4 separate regions of the Homo sapiens genome follow, and regions 2, 3 and 4 are each linked to region 1. Evidence: promoter capture Hi-C in 16 types of primary human blood cells and fetal thymus (Javierre and others, 2016). All regions are on one chromosome and are shown on one strand. Each heading gives the region's core, a stretch centred on a gene start or on the middle of the fragment in contact. The rest is flanking DNA. Distances are from core to core; before and after follow the strand shown. Region 1 holds the start of RNF13 (ring finger protein 13). Region 2 holds the start of GYG1 (glycogenin 1). Region 3 holds the start of HLTF-AS1 (HLTF antisense RNA 1). Region 4 holds the start of TSC22D2 (TSC22 domain family member 2).

Region 1 (4,495 bases), core at 765-3,264:
CTCAGGCCTACCCTCACTTAGCTAAAGTTAGTGCCTGTAAAAGTTCTGATAAATCTACGTTATTCTGGAATGCAGAAAAATATCAAGGGAAGAAAGCTGAATGCTAGCAACAATTTATGCCCCTCCAAAATTATTGAGAAAATTAGCTTTATACAAGCATAGATGAGAACTTATCCCAAACCCTTCAGTATTATACCTCTCAAACCAAGATTCTGTCTATGATTTGCATTACACATAGAGACAAGATGTCAAGCTGCCTAGCTTCAAACAAAGGCAGAGGTTAAAAAAAAAAAAACTAATAAAACAGTTCTCATTCCCTACATAGAGAAAAATAACTGTGCCTCTCTCCAACAGTTTCCAACAAAACAAAAAAAAATTATGTAATAGACAAATTTTGTTTCATTTAATCCTCATAACAACTCATTTCTTATTTACGGAAAATGTCACAGAATTAGTAAATGGCAGAGCTGAACCCAGCTTGACTCCCAAATTTGGAATTTAGTATTTTGAAACATTTGTTTTTGCCATAATCCATAATACACTTTACATTTCCATCTTCCTCTTGACACACACATACTGTTAAAAACTGAAACAAAAGCTTCTTGCCATAATATTTACTTTTATTCCATACAATGTCCTCTGGTATTTTTTCTTTCTTTATAAAGCTTATGTCAATGTACTAAATTGATTCTAAAATCTATTAATGAATCCTTATGGGCCCTGCACTACAGCACTGCACTACACTTCCTGCACTACAGCACTGCACTACACTTCTTACCTCCTGTTTAAAGTTCTTTTTAATTGCTATCACTGTCCAGTTTTGTTACTTCGAGATGGAGCTAATGTCCACCCATTAAAAAACTGTGCTTAAATAGCATAAACTCTTGAAAGCCCTACCTTAAATCTTGAATTGATCTGTTTCTCCAGAAGAACTCTTTGGAGGCACAGCCACCTTACTTATTTATATTGTATCAAAAACTGCAGATGTTCTCCTTGGAGAACAAACACATCATTGTTGAAAGGAATGCATCAGTTTTCACTGTTTCTGCTGCATCACTGACGAACAGTAATAGCCGGGCAGGTTTGGGGCAACAAGAGAGGACCCGAGCAGCTGCCCACGGTGCTGAAACTGATGATGAAACGACAGTTTTGGAAATTTACTATTTACTATTGTCAGATTAGGACAAAATAGAGGAATTTACCAGACACTGGCAGAGAAAACTGAGTGGCCGCCACCAAAGTTGCATGAGTGCTTCCGGGATACTGCTGTTTGGCTTCGATGTCTGCCCACTCTCTCTTTCTCTCTGGGACAAAGTTATTTAATAAGTGCAAGTCAAGTCAAGTCAAGCATACAGGCAGAGCTGCTGACTGACCGTAGTATCTGGCCCTAGCAGGGGTTAAGTCCCAAACCTGCAATCTGAGCTTCCAGGGAAAGAAAAAGGGGGTGGGGGTAAAAGAGAGGAAGTGACTGCCCTCCTTCTATTCAGAGACAAAACAGCCCCCTCAACTAAAGTCAAGCGATGTGCCCGAGGACGTTGCGGCAGGTACTTGACCAAGAAAAGCCTTCCAAACATGTTTTCCAGGCAGGCTCTTGCAGCCTCAAGAAGGGAATGAGAGAAGCAAAACCGGTAACTCAACTTTGGACACACACAAACTCGCGGAATGAGAGTGCAGGGGAGACTCGGTCCCCCGAGGGCAAGGCTATTTTATTCCTTTTGCAAAAAGCCTAATTGACTTCTCACCCAGCTCTAGAGGAGCAGCAAAGACCTCAGCAGCAGGGCCGACTCCGAGCTCGAGGGCCAACAAGCGGGGTATGTTCTCTGGGCCGCTCGATAACGAGCTGCCCGGCTGCCGCGAAGCCGGACAGGGTCTTACCTTGAAGTCCGGCCCCCGCAACACAAACAGTCTTGCCAGCCGCGTCGCTGCGGGAGAAGTCCCTACCCTGATTTCATGACTGAATATCCGCACCGACCCCCACAGCCCGGAGTACTAGCAGGGACGACAACACCTAGGCGAAGCGGAAGTCCCGCCCCACGCGCCTCATTGGTCCGCACCCAAAGGCACAGAAAACCCACTGGGCAACATGGTTGCCTGTTAAGGCTCTTTCCCACTCTCACGCGGAGTCTCGCTACTTGCTCTAGCCCGGCTCGGAGAAATGCCCAGTTTGCGAGTCTCGTTCTTGGCCGCGTGATCCGTCTTCCCTGGAAGGGAAGAGCAGGGTGGGGCAGGCGTCTGCGGAACTGGAGCGCGGCTGAAGAAGCTGCTCTTGGCAGAGGAAGGGGCAGGCTGGCAAAGTGGATTGGCTGTGGGCGCCTGCCGCTAACCATGTGCCCCTAGAAACGGAGACCGTAGGGTCTGGAGGGCGCGGGACCGAGCGGGCAGGGCCGGTCGGTCTGATCTGCTCCGGCTGTTGGGACAGAGTAGCCCAAGATTCGGCTGCCGGGCTGCCCCCGGGCGGGCCTGGCCCTGGCGCTGACGCGTCTCTTCCCTGCACACTACACTCACCCGACCTACTAAAGAGGCGAGGGCGAGGCCTCATCCGCCCGCCTTCCGTACCGTGCCCAGTCTGAGATCAGAGTGGGTGGGGACCGTGGCCACACCTTAAAGTAGGGCTCAAATTGTTAGAGATGCGAGCGGCCCGAGGTCTGAACGCCAGTCCCCTGAGGCCTGGCTCGGATCCACGCTGGCATCAGCACTCTGGGCCTGACACGCGCCATCCCCGGGGCTTAGCAAAAGTCAAACCATGTGATTCAGGCCCTAGGTCAGCCTTTTAAAACCCTTGCCTCCTTTTGATGAACCAAAAATCTCCTCCCCTGCCGCCCTTCTGATAAGCCTTCCTTTCTGGTTGTCTCAATCTTAAACCAGTCGAAACTTAAATTACCGGATTGTACCATCCACATTGATTAATCATTGCCAACTCGCCACCTTACAAAAGCAGTGTGACTTAGGCAAATATTACAGAGTCCTGAAAGAAATGTCAGGAGACATAGAATCAGGCACTACTTCTGCTTCAAATAATAAGGCACCCTTAATAAGGCCTTTACAGGCTTCAACTCCTTCAACATCATCTTTTAAAAATGGTGGCGAGGAGGCTATCACACAGAGTATTAGTAGAATACCATTGGATGTAACTTGTCACTTTGATTGCTTGGAGAGCCCTGAGTAGGTGGGACACAGCAATGGGGAAAAGACTCTTTCCTTATTGTGTATCCTTTTGTGCCTTTTGAATTTTGAACCTTGCAAATATTACCTACTCAAATAAAATTCAAATACAAGAAATTTAAGATCAAATTTTAAAAAATTAAATAAAAGCTATCAAAGGTACTTTCCTCTTCTGTGTATCCTATGAGTATTCTATGTAGTCTTAACTTTTCATTGGTTGCAAAGACATTCAATACTTAAATCACAATTCTGCCTTTAAGAAAGTCATAAATAAAAGTCAGCATTGGGAATATTACTAAGAAGACTAATTAGTATAAACACATTTATAATATCTCTATAAGCATTTTTTTCATTAAATTATCCCAAATTGGTATATTAAATCAGATTTCTTGCATAACATCAAAATAAATTTTTTTAGGCCGGGTGCGGTGGCTCATGCCTGTAATCCCAGCACTTTGGGAGGCCAAGTCAGGCGGATCACTTGAGGTCAGGAGTTCAAGACCACACTGGCCAACATGGTGAAACCTCGTCTCTACTAAAAATACAAAATTAGCCGGGCATTGTGGTGCACACCTGTAATCCCAGCTACTTGGGAAGCTGAGGCAGGAGAATCGCTTGAACATGGGAGGCAGAGGTTACAGTGAGCTGAGATCCCACCACTGCACTCGGGCATAGGCAACAGAGCAAGATTCCATCTCCAAAAAAAAAAAAAAAAATTAAGTCCACAGAGAGGAGCTTTGGGTTTTGTTGTTTTATTTTTATTTATTTTAGAGACAAGGTCTCACTCTGTTGCCCAGGCTGGAGTGCAGTGGTGAGATCATGTCTCACTGCAGTCCAGAACTCCTGGGCTCAAGTAATCCTCCCACCTCAACCTCTGGAGTAGCTAGGATTACAGGCATGTGCCACCAGGCCTGGCTAATTTTTTTATTTTTTTTAGCCTTACAGTCTGGCTATGTTGCCCAGGCAGGTCTCAAACTCCTGGCCTCAAAGGATCTTCTTGCCTCGGTCTCCCAAAGTGCTAGGATTACAGGCATGAGTCACCACGCTCAGACAAAGAGCTTTGCTTATTCCTTAAAGGCACCTTGAGTACAGAATATTTTACTTCTGGTTTCAACCTGCTCTTCAGATAACAATAGGTATAGTTCTCTCAACTATGAACAAGGTAATGTGTCATTTGTACTGCATTTAGGCTACACTCTGCAAAAACATTTACTCTCCCAACCTGTGCTGAAAAAGGTAAATTGGAAAAAAATATATTGGAAAAATGTATTAATCTTTCTAAAGCAGATTAGACAGTAAGATTGACAGATATCATAATTACAATTTTCAAGAA
Region 2 (4,495 bases), core at 1,108-3,607, 820 kb after region 1:
CACGCTAAATTCTCAGACAAAACAATAGCTTAATACCAAGAGTTTGAACTCCAGGCAACTAACAGATGGTAATGAAGAGATCAAGTAGTACATTTGCTGTTTCTTCTACAAGGTACTGTAGACAGTGTTTTCAGACAAGCACAAAACCAACCGTCAAACTCAATTCAGTCAGTCTGAAAGCAGAGTCCATATTCTTCATTCTGGTGCTTACGTTTATGCCATGCCTCAGGAATGTATGTATGTATGTATTTTTTAAGACAGGGTCTCACTCGGCCACCCAGGCTGGAGTGGAGTGGTGTGATCATAGCTCACTGCAGCCTCGAACTCCAGGCATCTTATACATAACTGTTTCCTCAACGTGGAGCAAAAGCTCCCCTGCCCCAATATCCCTGAAAAATAACATTGAGTCTCTCCTCAAGTATCAGCTCCTCAAAGAGGCTTTCCCTCCTTGATGCTTCTATCTAAATAGTTATCAATCACTGATAAATAGATTTGGAGATCACCCAAGAAGCCCTAAACAACTGCCTGCTTTTCTTTGGAGAAGAAGGTGCAGGTCCATCCTGCACCCTCCCCCTCCCCCCGCCCAAACCAACAGACACGCACCCCAATCTCCAATAATCACTTAGTTGCCAGAAGAGAAGGTAAATACATGGATTTTTCCTCCTGCTGAACAGTCCCCACCCTCCCAAGACCCCTAGCACAGGCTTCAAGATTTCTCCAGTCATTCCCTGGGACAATTCTGGGCCATGTTCCATCTCCAAGAAACATTAGCAAGTTGGTGGGCATCCAAATGCATAGGACACTTCGGATCAAGTTCTGGTAGGAGTCAGTTGCTTAACCAGCGAGTTGGGACATTTTGTCATGAAGTCCTTCTCTTTCTGACCTGGCTTTCCCTCATTCTCCCTTGCCCGTTTTCCAAGGTGGAGGCTGGAAGCAGTAGAAATTCCACCGAGACATGAGAGGAAGTTGTGGGTTGCCTAGTGGGCCAGCGCATCCCTCGGCTGCTGACCTGAGAGCCATCTTCACACATTTTATTAGGCCCTCTCCCACGGCAGGCCAACTACTAAGTTGTAGGAAGACCAGTTCCCCACCCCCGAAGGGCCACCAGCTTCCCAGTCACTCACACTCTAGGAAAGCTCTGAACAGTGGCACCTGTCCCTTGACAGGCCCATCAACATCCGCCTGTACTTGCTTCTATTATCTTCAGCCCATTATAACATGGGTAACATCGCTGTCAATCTGTACCAAAAATACTTAAGCTAGGCAAAATGAATGATCATCTAACTCAAATGAAGTCCAGGTTCCAGGCGATCATGGAGAAAAATGTAATAAGGTGAGCAGGATTCAAGGATTTCTGGAAGCAAGGATATGGATGATTTCCAAGATTAAATAAGGGATAGAACACAGGTTAGAACACCAGACTAGCCAACATTACAAATGACCAAGAAAGACCAATGACAGCTGGGTAGGAGTTTAATCTTCCTAAAGACGGCTGAACTCTGGGTTACACCTGCAATCTTTGTGGCAGTTCAACTGCTGTAATAACCCTGGCTATTAGCCTCAATGACACGGAAGGACCAGCTAACTCGGAGCTTCCCAGTGCTGGGGCTAACTCGTGGAGTGGCCCGGACGCCTCGCAACAAGTGAAGCCAAAGCCGGCGCCCTCCCACCAGACGGGGCTCGCGCCCGGGGACGCTAGTCCGACTCCCGGCTTCCCGCAACCCGGCCCCAAAGGCCTAAAAATAGGCTCAGCGTGGCGGCCGGGGCCGGGGCGGGCGGCGGAGGAGCCGGGCGGAGGCCGCAGTATCCCCGCCTCGGAGCCCCTGCTTCCTGGGGTTCCGGGCCGCCAGAGGCCGGGGCAGCTCCCCACGATGCCGCTGCGCCCCGGACTCCCGCCTGGAACCCCCAGGGGAACCGGCTCCCCACCCCCACACGGCCCCGCCGCAGCTGCTCCGCCCGCCGGCCCTTCGCCGTGAGAGCAAGAGGAAGGACGAGGAGACGGAAGCAGGAACGAGAGCTCCGGCCGAGGGCCCGGGCTCTGCCCGGCTGCCCCATCCCTGCACTCTGGGGGGCGGCGGGGCGGCAGCTGACGCAGGCAGAAACACGCCCGGCTGCGGCCAGCCAGCAACTTTGCGGCGGTTTCGTCCTGCCGGGAACACTCCGGGGCTGAGGGCGGAGGAGAAGGGAGGCGGCGGCTGGGCAGGAAGCCGGGGTCCCGGGGCTGGCGGCGGCGGGCTGCGCGGCGGTACCTGTCATGGTGCTGCCGGGTGCGCAGGCGGCCGGGGCAGCCTCAGGTTGGTGACTCAGAGAAGCCGGCACCGGGAGGGAGCGCGGCCAGCGAGGAGGCACGGCGGGGAACCGAGCGTCTGCCCCGTGCGCTCTTATAGCGGCCGTCACGTGGCCGCGCACGCTCTCGCTGCCGTCCGCATCCTCCCAGCTGCGCGGCCGGCAGGGGCGGTGGCCCGCGGGGCTCCGGGTCCCGCGTCTCCCTCGGCTCCTCCTCCCTCCCTCGGGGCTAGGCTGCCGCTGCGGCTGCGGCTCACCGGCGCCCCTGCTCCTACTTCCCCGGGGCGCCTGCCCTTGTCAACCGCGCGCCCCCTGTCGCCGCTAAACCTGGGAGTTAAGGGGGACTTTGGGGCTGAGTGCGGCATCAAACTCCCCAAGAAGCCAAGGGTTAGGGAACCTTAAAAAACAAGCAAACAAACCCCAGATTACTCTAGTTAAAATCGTGAGTCTGAACTGCTTGAATGAAACGTAAAATTTACGCTTTTTTTGCAGAATTTCGATCAGCCTCTATAATCATTCCTTAGTGTACTCACAATGGTTTTGTACCCTTAACCTAAAAAATATAGTGAATATTTCGTAAATGTTAAATTCTTGGAGCCATCTGCATCAATTAGGCATTTAAGTGCTTCATTTAATCCTTGTACGAACTCAGTGAGGTGTTACATATTCATTTTACAGACGAGGAGGAAACTGAGCTCAGAAAAGTTAAATTAACTTTTCTTTTCTTTTTTTTCTTGTATTTTTAGTAGAGACAGAGTTTCACCATGTTGGCCAGCCTGGTCTGGAACTCCTGGCCTCAAGTGATCTGCCAGCCTTAGCCTCCCAAAGTGCTAACTTTTCTATAGTCATATAATATAAATGGAGAAAGTAGGATTTAAACCCTGGCAGTTTGGTTACAGAATCAACCTTCCCACCCAGAAAGTCTTGGTGCCTCTTGTACACAGGGGCTCCAAAAAGGTTAGTAAATTATTGTAACTGTGGTTAGCCAATGCTAACCTGTTTCACAAATCTTGAAATGGTCAATTTGTCATTTTTCTAGGAAGTTGAGAAATAGCTTTAATGTGATCACATCCTTCTCTGCTCCCCATCCCCAGTCCAAACACAGAACAAGCCTCGGGTAGTTCAGTTCTCTGCAAACTGAAAACTGAAATTGCTCGGTAAATGTTGAATGAGTACTGCAAAGCCATTTGGAAACCAATCAGGAAGTTGACATCAGTTCAAAAAGCAAAACAGATGCTTAAGAATAAGTGATTTATTTGCAAAGGTGGTACTGCTGTCCTCAAACCAGTTATATCACTGTTTCCTCGTGTGTGGGTGTGGATCTCCTACATCAGAATCACTTGGGGGCACTGGTTAAAGCGTAGATTTTTGGGCCTAAGCCCAGACCTCCTGAATCAGAATCTTAAGGGTAGGTTTATTTTGGTGCAAAATAATTTTGAAATCCATGCATTTTTTTTTTATAATATGTATATTCTATGGACTTTTTGAAGTCGCGTCATATACTCTTGAGGTAATGAAATACTCTGTAGGCATAATCATTATATATTTTTAATATAAAAAGCTGTTCAAAATATATTATTTGAAGAAAAACAGGTTACAAAACAAAAAGAATCTTAAGGGTAGAACCTTAAAATCAGTATTTTAAATATCACCTTCCAGGAGCCTCTCTTGAGTCCTTCCTAGTCTTGACCATGGCCTAGAGACCGCTGATCACATGGGAGGCCCTCCCAGTTACTTGGCATTATGTGCTTCCGTTGTAGGAAACAGAAAAGTGGAAAGGGCAATAGATGGGTTTCCACTTATTCAAAAGATATAGACATAGAAGAGTTGGAGCTCTTTAAGGAACACAAAGGCTACACTTTTGTATCTTAAGTGGGGAGAGGGAAAACAAAGAGAGGTACTTCTCAGTCTGATTGCTCTTTTGCAGACTGAGAGGTGAACTTGGAAGAGTGAGATTTCCATCTTTCACCCAGAACCCTCCTGCCATCAGCTGACCCTTAACCATCTACTTCTTGCAGCCTACTATCTCAGGCTGGACTTAGCCAGGGATGTGGTGATGGGGCTGAAAGGGCAAAGCCAGGAGGTAGAACTGGGGACAACTGGGAAAAACAGAAAAGCTTCCCTTAGAACAAGCTCCTCTCTGCTGCAACTCCCAGGACGTTTAAGTAAAAGGAACGGTTACCACAGCTTCCCTTCCTGAGCTTCATGT
Region 3 (4,495 bases), core at 729-3,228, 730 kb after region 1:
ATCCACCCAACTCGGCCTCCCAAAGTGCTGGGATTATAGGTGTGAGCCATTGCGCCTGGCCAGTCTTAAGTCTGAAAGAGCTATGTTCTCATATTTGGAATTTTTTCTTTGTCTAGTGAGCATGACTTTCTTACTCTTACAAAACATCAATTTGAGCAATTTCTGGCATATTTTCCAAGAATTTATTTAAAATCTGGCATACTAAAAGCTGAACTGTATTGCCATTTGCCTCAACACACTTCAAGAAGAACATACAACAATTAAAATAATTTGAAATGCCATTGTCTTTATCTTCCTCATCAACTTTGGTCAAATGAAATAATACATTGTTTCAAATTCTATTGCTCATCCATGGTTCATGATTAGAGATCACTACAGTTTATTTACGATAATGAACAAATGTGTCTTGAAAAGCTGACTACCGGCCTGGCACGGTGGCTCATGCCTGTAATCCCAGCACTCTGGGAGGCCGAGGCGGGCGGATCACCTGAGGTCAGGAGTTCAAGACCAGCCTGGCCAATATGGTGAAACCCCGTCTCTACTAAAAATACAAAAATTAGCTGGGCGTGGTGGCGGGCTCCTGCAATCCCGGCTACTCCGGAGGCTGAGGCAGGAGAATCGCTTGAATCCGGGAGGCGGAGGTTGCAGTGAGCCAAGATCACCCCCATTGCACTCCAGCCTGGGGGACAGAGCAAGACTCCATCTCAATAAAAAAGAAAAAAAAACAAAAAAAAGAAAAAAGAAAAGCTGACCACCTAATATTATTGTGCTGACAGGCGTGTAACATGGACCTCTCTGTGACGCGCAAGTATTATCTGGCAGTTACATGGTGCCGCCTGTGCAGCTGGGCGCCACCACCAGCTTCCTGCCCTGTGCGATTAAAAGGCCAGCTTCGGGGACAGCAGCCTCCTCAACGCAAAGCGACCAGCCCTGCCAGGCGTCGGCTGCAGCTGGTCCAAGGTTGACGGTCCCAGGGCCGCATTCTCCTTCCGGTCACCTCAGACTCTGGAAAGAGAGCCATGGAGGGCCTCAGAGCGCCCCTCTGCAGTTCCTTGAGGAAAACAAGGGCCTCCCCCTCTTGGCTGGAGCAGCCAAGTGCCCACGGGGAAAATGGTCCCGTCCACCATTTCAGGCAAACGCCCCCATAGCTGTAATAAACATGTGATGGGTTTCCTGCACCAAGAAAGGAAAATTTTCCTTAAAAATAACAAAAAGAGGTGGGGAGGGGACTCTAAGTTCCATTTAAGATTTTCCAAACTCGTTGTGTCTCATGCATACGCTGAGGCTTAACATGAAAATTTGGAGCGAAAGTCCCCACGGTTCACCACAGGGAATGAAGTAAAGTATCTCGCCGGTAGCTCTAGGTCTCGTAAACCGTGGAGCTCCTTTAGTATAAGGCCCTATTATGTGCCACATTAGATGAGAAGAAAATAAGAGGAAGGATACGGTAGAGCCTTTAGAATGGGGTTCAGTCTTAGGACTCGTAGGATAAAGGAAGGTCGTTTCCCTCCGTTTGAGGCAGGGAATCAAACAAAACACCGGCACCGCAGGCACCGCAGTCGCACTCCTGGGGCCTCGTGGCTTTCCCGCGCGCCCGCCTTGGGGGCGGGGAAGAACCCGGATGGAACCACCCTTGCAGCCCGGACCCCCCGCCGTCTTTGAATGGCAGCGGGGCGGAGTTGCCCTCCCTTCTGTGCTCTGACTGGTTTGGCTCCGCACTCTCCTCTTCGTGATTGGGCTTTCCTAGTGCCAGTCACAGAGCGACGCTGGTCTCCCAGATTGTTGCAGAAGGAGACGGCGTCGACGTCTGACTGGACTCGCGGCGACTTACCTTTCAGTCGTGCGCTCCTGATCCGGCGCTCGGAATTTGTCCCCGGCTTCAGGGCTGCGGGGCCTGGAAGGAGGCGTATCGAGGCGGCTCGAAAACGATCCAGGGGAGCCGAGGCGCTCCTCTTGTCATCCCACTCAGCGCCATGTCCTGGATGTTCAAGAGGTGAAGGGGGCGGAGGGGGTGGGGCGCTCGGTCTAACGGCCTGGAGGCGTCCCCAAATGAACCTGACCTTCCCCGCGTTCCTCTGCGTTCCCTGGGCGATTTGTGCAGCTGTATTCGTTCTGTTGGTCGCATATGTGGCCGCCGGAGAAATAAATGCATTGTCTTCGCTGGCGAGTAGGGGCTCCTAGGGCGAGTCCCGTGTTAGGGACTTGGGAAATCTCTGTCACCGACTGTGGGGGGCCTGGGGCTTAAAGCATCTCGGCCAGTGCTTTATTTAACAAAACATCCATTAGATACCCACTGTGCGCCAGGCATTGTGCTCGGTGGAGGGCCGAGTAAGACAGTCCTTGTCCCCAAGTGGCTCACAGCTTATCTGTATGCACAGACGTGCAGATAAGTATTTGCAGAGGCGCTAGTAGAGATATGCGCCACTTGCAAGGAAAACGCATCGCAAATAAGCGACTGTTCTTAGGAGAATGGAAACTTTTTGCAATGCTCCAGTAGACTCCCCTTCACTTTTCATTGTCCAAATTGGTATTTATGGTCATTCCCGAAACAGTTACACCTAATGGGTTTGGGGTTATGCTTAAACCGGCGACGGAAGGCGGGTACGGGTGGCTTGGGGCCAATTTCCCACGGTGGCGTGGTTTGGATACCAGAATAGGTGTTCTGCTCGCAGGGAGTTACAGTGATGGATGCTGGATGTATTTTCTGGAAAATTATAAACAACTTCTGGTACATTAATAGTTGTATTTTTATAAGTCTTTTATATAGCTCAATCCCTATTGAAATTTTGGCATATGATTTCATTTTTTAAATTATTTTTTTGACATGGAGTCTCGCTCTGTCGTCCAGGCTGGAGTGCAGTGGCACAATCTCGGCTCGCTGCAACCTACGCCTCCCGGGTTCAAGTGATTCTCCTGCCTCAGCCTCCCGAGTAGCTGGGATTACATATGGGCGCCACCACGCCTGGCTAATTTTTGTATTTGTAGTAGACAGGGTTTCACAATGTTGGCCAGGTTGGTCTCAAATTCCTGACCTCAGGTGATCCACCTGCCTCTGCCTCCCAAAGTGCTGGGATTCCAGGCGTGAGCCACCGCATCCGGCCCATAATTGTAGTTACAGACATCATATACATATCAATTTAGATGATTTTCACTGGGAAAGAGGTTAGTGAACTCTGACTAGGCTTTTCATTTTGAATACCTAGGGGGCAGGTAGAAGAGCCAATATTGAAAACAGGTAGAGTTCCTAGAAGCCTTCTCCACTCACTGCAATTCCTGCTTTAACGAGAGTAACTATTAATCTTTACCGTGATTCCCATGTAAGATTTCATTTGCTGAAGTAAAGCATGAGAAAACTACTCATATGGTCTTTGGAAATACTTAAATATTATATTGTTTTTCTTTGCCTTTAAAAAAAAATAGGGATCCAGTTTGGAAGTACTTGCAGACTGTCCAGTATGGAGTTCATGGAAATTTTCCACGCCTCTCATATCCAACTTTCTTTCCACGTTTTGAATTCCAAGATGTTATCCCTCCAGATGACTTTCTAACTAGTGATGAAGAAGTAGATTCCGTTTTATTTGGAAGTTTGAGAGGTCATGTGGTTGGACTACGCTATTACACGGGAGTAGTGAGTATAATAGTAGATAATTAAATTTTGATTATATTTCTGGCGTTAACCTAGAAAATAAGAGAATTCGCAGGTGATGTGTGCGGTTAATCTTTATTTTACTTTAAGTTAGTTAAATATTTGTACGCAAAAAATAACAAATACCTTAAGTGACCCTCCCACCTCAGCCTCCCAGAGTGTTGGGATTACAGGAATGAGCCAATATGCTTGGCCTCAGTGCGTTATGTTTGGTTATTATGGGTAGCACCCCACCCCCACACCCCAGCGCCTTGTTCATGTCATCGATTTGTTGCAAAAAGGAGATCGTTTTGTGGAATCTTCTGGATTTTATTCTTTCATTTCTCCGTATGTTTCTTATGTTTAAGCTTCTCAATAGGGTGTCTGAAGCATGTTCGACAGGAGATTCCTTAGGAGTTTCATGTTCTGGATTTGTTTTTCTCCTGTATTTCCTTTACATTGGAACGTTTCAAATTGTTTTTTGATTGTCTGAAATGTGTTGTCTAGGAGATTCCTTAGGAAGAGACAATATTTCCTAAGTTTTTATATTTTCATACTTGTGGCATTTTATGAATGACAGTTTCATAAAATGAAAGTTATGAAGGACTTAATGACAGTTGGGCTGAATTTAAAATCTTTGTAATATATCTTTGTAATAAAATCTTTGTAATAAAATCTCCATATCCTAATGTTGCATAGAATTCTCAGGCCAGTGTGATTTTCTTTCACTTAAGTGAATTGGATTTTTTTTTTTTTCTTTTTTTTTGAGACCAAGTTTCGTTTTGTTGCCCAGGCTGGAGTGCAGTGGCCTGATCTGGCCTCACTGCAATCTCTGCCTCCCAGACTCAAGCAATTCTCCCAATTCAGCCT
Region 4 (4,495 bases), core at 730-3,229, 590 kb before region 1:
CATCCTCCTCCTCGTTTCCTTCTCTGTGTCGGTCTCTTCGGCTCTGCCCCCGTCTCAGTCCCGCGGCGGCTCCTCCTTCCTTTTTAGCTCTCGCAGCCGCGGCGCCTCAATTCAATTCCCTCAGAGGCGGCGAGAGCGCGAACCCAGGGGCGGGCCGGCTGCTTCCTCTCTCGTCTCCGGGCAGCCGTGGTCAGTCCAGCTCGGCGCTCGGCGCGGTCAGCAGGCCTTGGCTGGGGGTGGGAGTGGGAGGGCGAAGAGGAGGAGGAGGAGGCGGTGGCGGCGGCGTGAGGGGCGGTGCTGCCCCGCTCGGGCTCCTCAGGCCGGTGCCGGCGTCAGCGCTGGGCTCTCTGACTGAGGGAAGGAGCGGCGAGTCCGGAGTCGGAGATGCCTAATTCAGCCGGGAGCCGCGGGCCGGAGCTGGCTGAAGGTCCGCGGGCGGGCGGTGGGGCTGTGGCGCGGGCAGGCGGCCCTCCCTCCCCGGCTCTAGCCGGAGCTCAGCCCCAGGGACATGTCGACTGCCTCAGGCGGAAACCCGCTCTGGGGGAGGGGAAAGCCGGCTCGGTCCTCCCCTTACAGGGGGAACCACCCCTGCGGGCGGGCGGCGACGGCGGTCTCGGCCTCCCCTCGCGGCTTCTCTCAGAGAGGGGCGGCGGCGGCAGACCGCTGGCACGGGACCGGAGGCGCCCCGGCTGTGTGAGGTAGCGGTGGTGGCTTCTCCGGCTCCTCCTCGGTGCGCCCAATTCCTAAACCCCGAAGAAACTGAAATTCAAACTGCTGAAGCGGCGGCTGCAGCTCCCTCCGCTGGGCCAAGATGGGGCTGAAATGGCCGCGCCAGGGATGCTGGGAGGAGCAGCAGCCCCGCTGCCGCCGCCGCTGCCGACTAAAATGCCGCCGCTGCCGCAGCCACCGCCAGCGCCGCAGCCGCCGCCGTTCCGTGACGCACCGGCGTCGTGACGTCACCGCTCCGCCCCCTCCGGTTTCCTGCAGTTTCGCGTGGAACCTGGGGTGGGGGGCAATGGGCGGGGCTAAAGGTTAAAAAAGGGAGCGGTTTCTTTATTTAAAATTTTTAAAATTTAAATTTTGTGTTGTAGGTTCTTTAAGCATTGACGAGCTAAAGACCATTTTAAATTCTAAGCCTAGGGAAGCTTACAATGGAACTAATCAGATGTTTTTATGTCGGTTTGTTCCGAGACAGTGGAAGACTGGAGGTCATGTGCTTGTGTCTAATGTTTAGCAAAATCTTAGTGAAACGAGGGCGATAGGAATGGGGGCTGGGGAAGACTTAGATGGGATAAAAAGAGGTGCGGCTGGAAGAACTAAATCACTTTAAAACTTCTGAAAATAAATGTTGACCATTGTAGTCAGAGGAGTAAAATGTTCAGAGAAATGGGGATGATTAAACAAGAACGGCAAGCCAGATTGAGTCAGAAAATTATCTTCCTGCCAGAAATTCTGTCTCCCACAACGGCATCAGGGGGTGGTTACTTGCCCAGGGTGTAGTCAGTTTTTAAAAAGCTTAAGGGTTACCAACATATTCCTAAATTTCCTGAATTTGCTGTGATTCCAGGATTCATTTAAACTCTTGAGACTGTTTTACTTTCGGCACGAAATCAGCTCATGGGCTTTATAAATGTAGAACCTACTGCATTATAGTTCTTCTTTTTGTTTATTCTAAAACTGTTAGTAGCAGCCAGCGTATTATATGATTTGGATTGGGCCATGAACAACCGTAACGAGTGATAAAGCACCCTTTCCTGTTCCAATGCAAAGAACAACTATGAAAAGAAAGTACTGGCAAATTTATCATCTTGTAGTTAGTTCCTGGCCAAAGAAAATGGTAAGGCCATTCTTTTAAGCAGTTAAAAAAAAATGGGGATGGGCTCTTAAACTTTGGCATGCTAAGGCCATTCTTTTAAGCAGTTTAAAAAAATGGGGATGGGCTCCTAAACTTTGACATACTAAAGCAGTCGTCATTTAGGTAAAATCTAAGTCTTAATGGAAATCGTGATTTCATATCTACTGCAGCGTTAGCAATCACATAATGATAACTTAAATCAGTAAATCGTTGAACTCGGTTCTCTAATCTTTGAAGAATAGAAATACTTTTTATCCCAAAAGATGTTTTGAGAATTAAATTTGCAGAGAATTTTTTAGGTCTTTAGTTGTAATTTATAGAGCTAGGTCTTTTAACTTTAGTGGAAACCATGCCCTCCAAACCCAAGTGACTGGAGTCAGAATGTGAAATAAGACGACATAAAATCCCTATTTCTTAAGGGGCTGGGCGAAAGTAATGGAACAAAATGTAACGTTATGCTATTGTGGCAGAGATAGCTAATGGAATGTTTCATTTCTAAGTCTGTAATTTCAGTAATTGTTAGAGGCAGTTTTCCATCAATAAGTTAGATCAAATGGTTAAACCCAATATGAATTTATAAAAGCTTAATTTAATTTTGGATTGATTTACCAGATGTTTAAGGTGGTTATAATGGGTAGTGTTGATGGTGGTGCTTTTGGAAAAATGAGTATTATATGCCTGCTCATCCCTTTACATTATCTTATCATATAAACTTCTTGATTACTCGTTATGATACTCTTAAATCGTACATTTAGAGGAAAAATCTTAAAGTAATCTGTAAGACCATTTCTCCTTAAAATGATATATTATGAGATGAAAGGAAAGATAAAGATAATTTAGAAGAGATCCAGAAGTGGACTAAATTTCTGGTAAGGAGGGGGCTAAAGATGTTAAAAGACATCTTAGGAAAAGCATATGATTTATAACTTTTAAAAGTGTCATTTAGATGGTTAAGGATTTGTGTTTAATAGTTCTCTTGAAAATATTGTTTTCCAAAAGTTTAAAAGCCCTAGCTACTTTTATACATTTGCCCTTAAAAAATGTACAGAATTTATTACATCAAACTGCTACAAAGAAATAAGAATTCTGATTTTTGCAAGTAAGTTGGAAATCAACGTAGAGGACAAAAAGTGGCATAGCTATATCTAAACAAAAAAGTATGTAATTCAAAAGTTGGTCCACAAAGAATTGAAAGCCTTTCAATAACTAATTTAAATGATAGAAAGCAGTATGTATATGCAAGTACATATGCTCCCTGTATAGAGAGTGGTTAGTAAGTAAGATGGTAGCCTAACTCACTGGAATAAAGAGATCCTTGGAGTCCCAAACCTCAAGACTAGGAGTCTTAATGCAGTTACCAGGCTGCATGCCTGTACCCAGAGACCATACTAGAGGCTGTGGGAATCCTCGATTACTGCTCTTAGAGCCCCCAACTTGACTGTTTCTTCTGTACCTGGTACTTTTTTCAAATATTTCAAATTGCAGTGATGCATGGGAGATACATTTAGAAAACATAATGCAGGGGAATAAAAGCAGTTAAAAACTAAGGACAGTTTCTACTGATGAAAATAAAAAACTGCTACAGCAACATCTTTTCATCATCTGTAAACATCATACCCCCAAATTTTCCTAAGTTATTATCTAACCTCATCAGTAGCAGATGGTGAATTATTTCATAGAAAATCCTGGAATGTAAACTCTAGATACTCAAGAAAACCTCTTTTTTTTCAATGAAGGTATATTATATTTAAAATAATAATGATGCATTAAACATTATGGGATAAAGAAAATACTTTCCATAGAAATTAAGCAATGGCCTAGGCAAAGAGAAGTAACCCTTTAGCATTAATACTATCAGTTAGACAGTGACATTTATTGAACATTCCCTGTGTTGTGTATTAAGAATTGGACTACCTATATCCCAGTCAACAATTTTTTCTGGAGTTTAGAAATAGTTTATGCTTATTTTCTGTGTTTTTTATTACCAAATTGTTATTAGTTTGGTGCAAAAGTAATTGTGGTTTTTGTCACTTACATGATGGCAAAAACTGCAATTACTTTTGCACCAACCTAATAGAAAAATACAAAATGGAGAATAGTTTTCAGGTTCCACAAAGCATTTGCTGGAAATAAATATCAGTTGTCTAAATAAGTAGTACTTGATTTATTACTATGATTTTCGTAGGGTTCCATTTCTGGAACAATATCATATTAATAAACCCTTTCAGTGAGACCATTGTGTGGTATTGCCCAAAAAGGAAAAAAAAATGTAATGAGAAAGGACTAAGGCTAATAAAATTCCATAAATACTATTATAAAGAAAAGTATAATTTGACTGAGATGCACAAATGCTTACTTGATAATGAGGTGTTTTTAAGGAAACTTCTATTAAATACTCTTTTTGAGTTTAATATACTATGAAACAATGTTGTCTTTTTTTTTTTTTTAATGAAGATTTCCTTGACTTCCAAAGACCTTTGATGTTCAAGCAAAATGTAGCAATTTGGTAAAAGTAAAGGGTGCATTTCGAACTGAAATAAACATAATGTCCTATTAAGACCTGTATTATATTTTATGGAATTTAACTTAGAATGTAAGATATTAGCTCTGCGGTTTTACAAGCTTGTTTAAATTCTGCAA

The links. Contacts are between HindIII fragments. The CHiCAGO score rates a contact against its expected background, and 5 or more counts as called.
Region 2: the fragment with the promoter of GYG1 here is called in contact with the fragment with the promoter of RNF13 in region 1 in 7 of 17 cell types (fetal thymus, naive CD8 T cells, non-activated CD4 T cells and 4 more); the score reaches 10.2 in fetal thymus.
Region 3: a contact is called between the fragment with the promoter of HLTF-AS1 here and the fragment with the promoter of RNF13 in region 1, in 4 of 17 cell types (fetal thymus, naive CD8 T cells, naive CD4 T cells and 1 more). The highest score is 14.1, in fetal thymus.
Region 4: a contact is called between a fragment that was not itself captured here and the fragment with the promoter of RNF13 in region 1, in 1 of 17 cell types (total B cells). The highest score is 5.1, in total B cells.

The regions. Positions count from the first base shown.
Region 1 is chr3:149,810,734-149,815,228 of GRCh38, reverse strand. RNF13 (ring finger protein 13) reads right to left here and starts at 2,014. Exons shown (of 10, transcript NM_183381.3): 1 at 1,876-2,014. RefSeq lists enhancers at 2,171-2,280, 2,146-2,657 and a silencer at 2,491-2,640. The HindIII fragment of the contact is 6,716 bases long and covers 668-4,495 here.
Region 2 is chr3:148,989,402-148,993,896 of GRCh38, reverse strand. It overlaps GYG1 (glycogenin 1), which reads right to left and starts at 2,357. Exons shown (of 8, transcript NM_004130.4): 1 at 2,250-2,357. The coding sequence starts at 2,256. RefSeq lists silencers at 1,341-1,635, 1,669-2,718. The HindIII fragment of the contact is 9,660 bases long and covers 1-4,405 here.
Region 3 is chr3:149,083,815-149,088,309 of GRCh38, reverse strand. HLTF-AS1 (HLTF antisense RNA 1) reads right to left here and starts at 1,978. Exons shown (of 3, transcript NR_046648.1): 1 at 1,832-1,978. It overlaps HLTF (helicase like transcription factor), which reads left to right and starts at 1,777. Exons shown (of 25, transcript NM_003071.4): 1 at 1,777-1,993; 2 at 3,421-3,628. The coding sequence starts at 1,974. RefSeq lists enhancers at 1,415-1,932, 1,818-2,027, 1,933-2,450. The HindIII fragment of the contact is 6,248 bases long and covers 1-3,995 here.
Region 4 is chr3:150,404,685-150,409,179 of GRCh38, reverse strand. TSC22D2 (TSC22 domain family member 2) reads right to left here and starts at 882. Exons shown (of 3, transcript NM_001303264.2): 1 at 1-882. RefSeq lists a silencer at 192-791. The HindIII fragment of the contact is 923 bases long and covers 1,518-2,440 here.